Regions from separate parts of the Homo sapiens genome. Here region 2 is linked to region 1. The links are contacts of gene promoters, found by promoter capture Hi-C in human tissues and cell types (Jung and others, 2019). All regions are on one chromosome and are shown on one strand. The core of a region is centred on a gene start or on the middle of the fragment in contact, and the rest is flanking DNA. Distances in the headings are between cores, read along the strand shown.

Region 1 (4,976 bases), core at 823-3,322:
TTTTTTTTTCCTGGATCACTTTTTATGTGTTTGAATGTATTCATCTTTTCAATGGCTTTTGGATTTGGATTTGGGTAACATGGTTTATGGTTAGAAGGAAGCTCCCCATATTTTCTTCTGGCACTTTTGTGATTTCCTTTTTTTGAGACAGAGTCTCGCTTTATCGCTCAAGCTCGAGTGCAATGGTGCGATCTCAGCTCACTGCAACCTCTGCCCCCCGCCCCGGGTTCAAGCGATTCTCCTGCCTCAGCCTCCCAAGTAGCTGGGATTACAGTCGTCTGCCACCACGCCTGGCTAATTTTTGTATTTTTAGTAGAGATGGGCTTTCCCCCTGTTATCCAGGCTGGTCTCGAACTCCTGAGCTTATGAGATCCTCCCACTTCAGCCTCCCAAAATGCTGGGATTACAGGAGTGATCCACTGCGACTGGTCTGATTTCCTTTATTTGTGTTTAAATTTTTGATCCTTTTGGAATTTTCCCTGATCAAAGGATCCACCTTTGTTCTTCTTTCTAATGGCCAATTGTCCCATTACCCTTGTCAAGGAGTAAGGTAGGAATGGCTTTGTGGGGTATGAAATGTGAATTTCTTTTTGTCTTATTTATAACAGCATCTGCCTCTACTCTTCTGAAACTGTGTTCCTGTCCACCCACCCATTCAACTACCCATTGATTGACTGATTGATTGATTCATTCAATTTCTCGTTTTTGTTTTTTTGCTTGTTGAGAATTCTAACATTAATTGGACATTGTCCCTGACCTTTTGGGTTTCTATTTAGGATTTGTTTTTATCACTTAATAACCAACAATGATGACATTTTATCGAATGTCTAGTATATTTGTTCCAAGTATCATTTCAATTACACTTAAAACAAAGCAGTGATGTCAGTTATACTATTTTTCCCATTTGAGGAGTCATTTAAAAGAGGTTTTGAGGCTTTCCAATGGCCCCCAGTTGGAAAGTGGCAGTACTGGATGCAATTCAAGAGCCCAGTCTTCAGGATCCTGCCTTTTTACCTACCTGGACGCTGTAACTGGTCTCTGTGGAATGGCTGGATGAGGGAATGAATGAATGAGTCAGTGAAGGAATGAGGAAGACAGAATGAGTCAGCTCGTGCTTTCAGAGGAGCCCAAAGGGAGAGGTTAAGATAGGAATGCAAATGACCAGAATCCAGAGTAAACGCGAGCCCACCAGCGTTTTGGAAGCAGTCCACTTTCTACCCCCTCCTATTTAAAATGCTTCATTCTTTCCAGTTCCTCCCCACCTAGAATCCATGGAACCAAACGCTGGGGTAGGGACAGTGGCCAGCCTGTCTCCTTGGGTTTGACGCATTACATCATCCACGTGGAGGTCCCCTGTGGAGCTCTGCAGCCCTGCAGCCTCAGGGGCAGGGGGGTGGGGAGAATGAGGAAGGGGGAGAGGGGGAATAGGAGGAGGGAGTAGGGGACAGGGAGGGAGGAGATGCCAGGAGGGTAAGTGGAGAAGAGGGAGGCGAAGCCGGGGGCAGCAGGGGAGGGGGTCAAGGAGGAGGAAAGAGGAGAGCTTGGGGAGAAGGAAATAGGGAGGATGGAGAAGTTTTGGGCTGGGATAGGCAAGAAGAGGGAGGAGGAGAGAGGAAGAAGAATAAAGGGGGAAGGGAGAAAGAGGGGGAGGGAAGGGAGGGGGAAGAGGTCAGGGAAGTGGGGGAAGCAAGCAGTGGGGGAAGAAGAGGAAGGAGGAGGGAGAGGAGGAAGGCGGGGTGGGAAAGGGGGTTGGGGTAGTGGGAGTTTCCAGGGAGGGGTCGGGAGGGGAGGAGGGGAAGTGAGAAGGAGAAGGAGAGAGAAGAGGGATGTTGGGGGAGAAGAGAGCGGGAGGGAGGAGGGAGAGTGAGAGGGAGGAGGCAAAGCCCCTACTCCAGCCCCCACCGCGGAGTTGCGCAAGCCTTCCGGTCTGGGATTGGCCGCCAGAGAATCAAGACGCTCCGCCCCCGCAGCCCGACGGCCAATGAAGAGGCGGGCCGCCGCCTGGGCGGCCAATGGGCGCGGGGGGGCGGGGCGGGCCACGGCCTGGGGTCCCCGCGCGCTCTCCGTCCGCAGTGGAAGCCGCCGCCGCGCTCGCAGCTTGCAGGCGCCGCGTAGCCGTCGCCACCGCCGCCAGCCCGTGCGCCCTCGGCGCGTACCCGCCGCGCTCCCATCCCCGCCGCCGGCCAGGGGCGCGCTCGGCCGCCCCGGACAGTGTCCCGCTGCGGCTCCGCGGCGATGGCCACCAAGATCGACAAAGAGGCTTGCCGGGCGGCGTACAACCTGGTGCGCGACGACGGCTCGGCCGTCATCTGGTAGGAACTTTTCATTCGTCTCCACGCCCCGCTCCCCGGGCTCGCGCGGGGCCTCGTGCACCGAGCCGGCCTCCAGGCGGGACGGATTCGGGCCTCCCGCGCTGTCTTCCTCGCCTTATTCCGGGACGGCGTGCCAGGCCCCCGCGGGCTTCTCCGTGGCCAGCGCGTCTGTTAGATTGTCCTCTGCAAGCGCCGCGTCGCGCGGCCACCAGCGCTGATGTGTGTGTGTGTTTTTTTCTTCTCCCAACCCAAAGGGTGACTTTTAAATATGACGGCTCCACCATCGTCCCCGGCGAGCAGGGAGCGGAGTACCAGCACTTCATCCAGCAGTGCACAGGTAGGGAGGCGCGCCTGCCGGGCGGATGCGCGGTCGTTGGGAGGTTGTCTGCACCCGGGGAGCCCCGGCCAGAGCGAACCCGGGAGGAACCGGTGGCCACATGGGGTGCCCCTGGCGCATGGCGTGGGAGGAACCCGGTGTGAGCGTTTTAAGGCCTCATAAAACCTTCTCCCCTCTGGACATCCGAAGCAACAGAAGTGACCCACCTGCCTCCGCCATCCTACAATGCCTTCTCCAGGCGGGGCAGCTCTTTTGCCCCCTGCGGTCCACTGGTTTTCTAAGGTCAACTCCTGTGTTTCCAAACTCCAGTGTCCATCCAGCTCTTCCCACTGTCCCCTTTGATCAGTCACTGAGCCCAAATACGAACAGGCTAGGGGGCTGCTTGGAAGGGAAAGAAACTCAGCCGCGCCCTCCTTTCTCCCGCTATCATTGTCTGCCCGTGTGCTGATTTTATGTGATTTTTAATTTGACGAGTAGAATCAGATGCAAAAGAGTACACACCATATGATTCCATTTAGAAATCCTAGACAAGGCGAAACTAATCTATGGTGTGAATGTCAGAATCGAGATTAGCTTTTGGGGCTAGATAGCCACTGATGGGGAGGGGCACACCACCCGGACTGCTGGGAGCTGAAAATGTCTCTGTAGACATTTGTTGATCTGGGAGGGGGTTATGCAGGTGTGTACCCGCGTGAAAAATCATCAGACTGTATACTTAAGATTTGTGTGCCTTAGGCACTTCCCTGTGGCTTGTGAACCATGAAAAGAAAGACCACGTGGCAGGCATCGCCATAAACCCTTCGGTAGTGGCAGAGGCTCTGTGATGTTGGTAATGGGACCTTTTAAAGAGATTGGAGAATGCGACTCCCTCCCATCTCTGGTCTTTAGTTGGAAGCAAGCTTTCGGACAACGGCAGCACAGCCCGGAGGTTACGGCGTGGACCCTGAGCCAGACGGTGTGGGTTACTTATTTATTTATTTATTTATTTATTTATTTTTGAGACAGAATCTTCCTCTTTTGCCCAGGCTGGAGTGCAGTGGTACAATCTCAGCTAACTGCAACCTCCGTCTCCCGGGTTCAAGAGATTCTCCTGCCTCAGCCTCCTGAGTAGCTGGGATTACAGGCGCCCACGACCACGCCTGGCTAATTTTTTGTAATTTTAGTAGAGATGGGGTTTTCACCATTTTGGCCAGGCTGGTCTCTAACTTCTGACCTTAGGTGATCTGCCCACCTTGGCCTCTCAAAGTGCTGGGATTACAGGCGTGAGCCACTGCGCCCGGCCGACGGTGTGGGTTCGAATCCCTGAACGGCTGCTTCCTGGCTGTGTGGTTTGGAACGAGTTCCTTAATCTCTGGGGGTCTTGGTTTCCTCACCTGCACTCTCACAGTGCTGTTGCGAGGATAAGTGAGTCAGTATGTATAAAATGCTCAGAACAGTGCCTGTACAAGCTACATGATTGTTTGCGAAATAAATAAAAAGTACAAAATTGTGCCAGGGATCATGTGGGTGTTTCTTTCCTTAACTGCTTCCATAATCAAATTATATTTTGCATTTAGTTCAATTCAAAGGGTATTTGTGGTGTGACTACTAGAGGATGGGTGATACTGAGAACCCGCGTGCGCGCACACACACACACACACACACACAAAACTAAAATTACTCCTTGAGCGCTGCCTGTAGACATTCATTCATTGCTTTTGTAAACAGTTGGCCTAAAATCGCAGCATAAAGCACTGCAACGATGTGGAGAGTTGGCAGGGCAGGATTTGAACCCAGGCCTCCGTCCCTCCGCCTCTGTAGTTGAATGCTTTTGCAAGTGGAGTAAGTGCAAACTCTTAACTTTCTCCCCTCCGGTCCGTGAACAGCCAGGAGAGTCAGCAGTATTTCTGCTTTGCCGGCTCTGAGGCTATGCTTTACAGACCAGCTTCCCTCCCTAAATTCAGCTTCTTTCCTCCCGCTGGTCACCCATCCCTCCCTTCCCCCATCAAACCATGTTCTGCCTCTGAAGCTACTGTTCTCTCCAGCAAGTAGAAGGGGATGAGGAAAAGAGCATCCATCCCATCAGGAGGCTCCTGGCAGGTGCTCCCAGGCCTCAGCCCACTCTGGTGTAGTGGGAGAACACTTCCCTCCTCCCACAGGCTTGTGGTTTTCTGCTCAGACCCACCTCCTGCCCCCCAGGGATGGGAGTGGGGAGTGGCGCGTGTCTGGCGAGGAAGCTAAAAATGCTTCCCTGCTGTGTGTGGATCCTCATGAATGGGCCATGGGAGCTTCAGCTGCAGTGCTTTCTTTCCCCAGCCATCTGTTGGACAAATGCATAGGAGAATTAT
Region 2 (4,480 bases), core at 773-3,272, 520 kb after region 1:
GCCAACTGGGGAAATGCTCTGGGGATTGAGTTGCAAATGATAGGAAATACAGAATCTGAAACAGAACAAAGGATCATCCTGATGCCTTCTTCTCTTTGGCTGCTAGAATGCTCAGGTCCAGTGTGCTTAATATTTTTGGTGTTATTTTGTTGTCCTTACTTTTTTCCATTTTTCTCATTGATTTTATTGTTTTATTTTTGAAGATGCCTAAAAAAAATTTTCCCGTGAAAGCAGTGAGTAATAAGTAAATAAAAATGAAATAATATGTTTCATGGTTGTATGGCACATTAATTTGTCTTAAAACCAGGATATCTCTTTTACCCTCTTATTTATTTTATTATTTTATTATTTTAGACATAGGGTCTCACTTTGTTGCTCAGGCTGGACTCAGACTCCTGGGCTCAAGTGATCTTCCCACCTCAGCCTCCCAAGCAGCTGATCTACAGGCACCTGCCACCTTGCCTGGCTGACCCACTTGCTTAAATTATAAATACAACTAAATCATACCTGGCTATGTCAGTTTGCTACTAATGTCTGTGTGCACTGTTTTTTGTTTCATAGATTGGCTCACAGTGGTTGATTGATCAACCCCATTGGACGTTGGTTCTGTGGTACAAATGGAGTACAGGACTCAGTCGTCACGGCCTGAGTGAGAGAAGCCTTATTTCCAAGATGGAGAAGAAGCGGAGAAAGAAATGAAAGCCTCTCTTCAGGCTGAACCACAAAAGGCCATGGGATTTAACTTTTATTTATGTTGGGCAAGACTGTAAGATGGCTGATTAGTAATGTTGCAGCTTTTAGCTGAAACAAAAATTCACTTTTAATCAAGAAGAAAAAAGTGTGATTTGAATATATGCAATTTTATGATCATATTCGCTTGTGACCATGAAGCTTGTCAACATCTGGCTGCTTCTGCTCGTGGTTTTGCTCTGTGGGAAGAAACATCTGGGCGACAGACTGGAAAAGAAATCTTTTGAAAAGGCCCCATGCCCTGGCTGTTCCCACCTGACTTTGAAGGTGGAATTCTCATCAACAGTTGTGGAATATGGTAATGATGTTGTCTTAAGTATTAGGAACTCCCATCCTATTTTTTTAAAGCTTACTTAATATAAAATTAGCTATTGCTGAATAACATGTTCCTCTTTTCTACAGTAAATTTCTTTCTTTTTTTTTTTTTTGAGACAGAGTCTCACTCTGTCACCCAGGCTGGAGTGCAGTGGCATGATCTCGGCTCACTGTAACCTCCACCTCCTGGATTCAAGCAATTCTCATGCCTCAGCCTCCCAAGTAGCTGGGATTATAGGTGACTGCCACCGTCCCTGGCTAATTTTTTGTTTTGATTTGTTCTGTTTTGTTTTGTTTTGTTTTTGAGATGGAGTCTCACTCTGTTGCTGAGGCTGGAGTGCAATGGCACGATCTCGGTTCACTGCAACTTCCACCTCCCAGGTTCAAGCAGTTCTCCTGCCTCAGCCTCCTGAGCAGCTGGGACTACAGGCACCCGCCACAACTCCCAGTTAATTTTTTCTATTTTTAGTAGAGATGGGGTTTCACCACATTGGCCAGGCTGGTCTCGAGCTCCTGACCTCGTGATCCGCCTGCCTTGGCCTCCCAGAGTGTTGGGACTACAGGCATGAACTATCGTGCCAGGCCTTTTTTTTTTTTTTTTTTTGTATTTTTAGTAGAGACGGGGTTTCAGCATGTTAGCCAGGCTGGTCTTGAACTCCTGACCTCAAGTGATCACCCTCCTTGGCCTCCCAAAGTGCTGGGATTACAGGCATGAGCCACCGTGCCTGGCCTTCTGTAGTAAATTTCCAATGGGTTGAGTGCACAGCACATGAATGTTAACTTTGCTTAAGTTTGTTTTCCCAGTAGAGTAAGCTTATATGATAAAAGGAAATTGACATGAATTATTTACCTACACCTTCTTTTCTTTTTCTTTTGGAGACAGAGTTTTGCTCTTGTCGCCCAGGCTGGAGTGCAGTGGTGCCATCTCAGCTCATTGCAGCCTTGGCCTCCCAGGCACAAGTGGTCTCCCACTTCAGCCTCCTGAGTAGCTGGGACTACAGGCACCTGCCACCGTGCCCAGCTAATTTTTTTATTTTTGTTTTTTCTTTTTTCTTTTTTGAGATGGAGATTCACTCTTGTTGCCCAGGCTGGAGTGCAATGGCACCATCTCAGCTCACCGCAACCTCCACCTCCCAGGTTCAAGCGATTCTCCTGCCTCAGCCTCCCGAGTAGCTGGGATTACAGGCATGTGCCACCATGCCCGGCTAATTTTGTCTTTTTAGTAGAGACTGCGTTTCTCCATGTTGGTCAGGCTGGTCTTGCACTCTTGACCTCAGGTGATCCTCCTGCATTGGCCTCCCAAAGTGTTGGGATTACAGGCATGAGCCACTGTGCCCGGCCTGCCCAGCTAATTTTTTTATTTTTTGTTTCACCATGTTGCCCAGGCTGGTCTTAAACTCCTGAGCTCAAGCAATCCATCCACTTCGACCTCCCAGAATGCTGGGATTATAGGCATGAGCCACTGTGCCCAGCCTACACCTTGATTCTTTGGAACAGGTGCCATTGTAATTGGTGAAGGTGGGGAGCTGGGAGGTGCAGAATGTTTATGTTCTAAAGTTTGAGTGACCAGATGTGAAGAACTGAGCAAATAGTCTCACATAATCCACTCTGGAATTTTGTTACTGTTTTCGTTTTAAGAAACACTAACTGAGCATTCAGTTCTCTGAATTTCTTTTTCCTACTTGATAAAAATTATATACATTTCTTTGTTGTGTATTCAAACTTCTGTAGGTATTTGCTTTTTAAAAAAATATCACGGGTATCTGGTTTCGAATGATGTATTCTTTGTGGTTAGGTGATTCATAGAGATCTTTTTTTTTTTTTTTTTGAGACGGAGGCTTGCTCTGTCACCAGGCAGGAGTGCAGTGGTGCAATCTCTGCTTACTGCAATCTCCGCCTCCCAGGTTCAAGTGATTCTCCTGCCTTAGCCTCCCAGGATTATAGGCGCCCACCACCACACCCAGCTAATTTTTTGTATTTTTAGTAGAGATGGGGTTTCACTATGTTGGCCAGGCTGGTCTCAAACTCCTCACCTCGTAATCTGCCCACGTCAGCCTCCCAAAGTGCTGGGATTACAGGCGTGAGCCACCGCGCCCAGCCCCATATAGATCATTTTTCCTCAAAGCTCTGCAGACAGCTGTCTAGGTACTTAAACTAGTCTTTGTGTTTTCTCTCGTCTGCTGTGGGCTTTAAGATAATTTTTCTTTTGCCAGATTTTAGATTAGATACAATATAGTATATGTTATAATGTATGTGCGTAAATCTTATTTTTGTTTGTGGTGATTGGTTTCAGAATATATTGTGGCTTTCAATGGATACTTTACAGCCAAAGCTAGAAATTCATTTATTTCAAGTGCCCTGAAGAGCAGTGAAGTAGACAATTGGAGAATTATACCTCGAAACAATCCATCCAGTGACTACCCTAGTGATTTTGAGGTGATTCAGATAAAAGAAAAACAGAAAGCGGGGCTGCTAACACTTGAAGATCATCCAAACATCAAACGGGTCACGCCCCAACGAAAAGTCTTTCGTTCCCTCAAGTATGCTGAATGTGAGTATTGTGACTGTAGGCAAATTTCTCTCTGCTGTTTACTTTGAAAATCTCAAACTGCAGAGTAGTTGAAAAATAGTACAGTGAGTATCCGCATCCTTCCATCTAGTTTGCTAATTGTGAACATTTTCCTGGTAGGAATTTTTTAGTTTAGTTTTGTTTAGTGCGCAGGGTCGGTGTTGGGGGGGCAGAATTATTTTTTAAAAAGAGACTTCGTACTGTTCTGGTAGAAGAAAATCTGAGGGTTTGCAGTAGTAGATGGTAGTGATCTTTGTTTCTGTTGGAAGCGATTTTCGCCAGCTTCATCTCAAAGCCTTCAGACTTCAAGGCTGCGGCCGCCTTCTCGTGCTGAAAGACGCGTCCTTGTGTCTGCTTCTTCCTTGCATTTCGCTTCTCTCAGTGTGTGTTTTATTTTTTCTTTTCCTTTTTATTTATTTATTTTTTTGAGACGGAGTTTCGCTCTTGTTGCCCAGGCTGGAGTGCAGTGGCGCGATCTTGGCTCACCTCAACCTCCACCCAGGTTCAAGTGATTCTCCTGCCTTAGCCTCCCAAGTAGCTGGGATTACAGGCATGCGCCACCATGCCTGGCTAATTTTGTATTTTTAGTAGAGACAGGGTTTCTCCATATTGGTCAGGCTGGTCTTGAACTCCTGACCTCAGGTGATCTGCCTGCCTCAGCCTCCCAAAGTGCTGGGATTACAGGCGTGAGTCACTGCACCCAGCCCGATTTTTAAAGGCACTCTTGCAAAACATGTTTTCCTGGGGTTTCGTTTTGTTTTTGTCAAAGCCTCCTGACCAGGAATGGTCATGCATCAGCTGGGTTCGTTGAAGTCATCAGCTGTGCAGGTGTGAGCATGGAAGCAA

The links. Contacts are between HindIII fragments. The study calls those that stand out against the background at their distance.
Region 2: a fragment that was not itself captured here is called in contact with the fragment with the promoter of COTL1 in region 1 in 1 of the 25 tissues and cell types used here (dorsolateral prefrontal cortex).

Annotation. Positions count from the first base shown.
Region 1 is chr16:84,615,174-84,620,149 of GRCh38, reverse strand. It overlaps COTL1 (coactosin like F-actin binding protein 1), which reads left to right and starts at 2,072. Exons shown (of 4, transcript NM_021149.5): 1 at 2,072-2,312; 2 at 2,567-2,649. The coding sequence starts at 2,236. RefSeq lists silencers at 1,814-2,173, 2,194-2,243. The HindIII fragment of the contact is 16,310 bases long and covers 1-4,976 here.
Region 2 is chr16:84,098,189-84,102,668 of GRCh38, reverse strand. MBTPS1 (membrane bound transcription factor peptidase, site 1) reads left to right here. Exons shown (of 23, transcript NM_003791.4): 2 at 562-1,048; 3 at 3,359-3,616. The coding sequence starts at 886. Among named protein-coding and RNA genes, the nearest start is that of MBTPS1, 17 kb to the left of the region's middle. The HindIII fragment of the contact is 3,194 bases long and covers 426-3,619 here.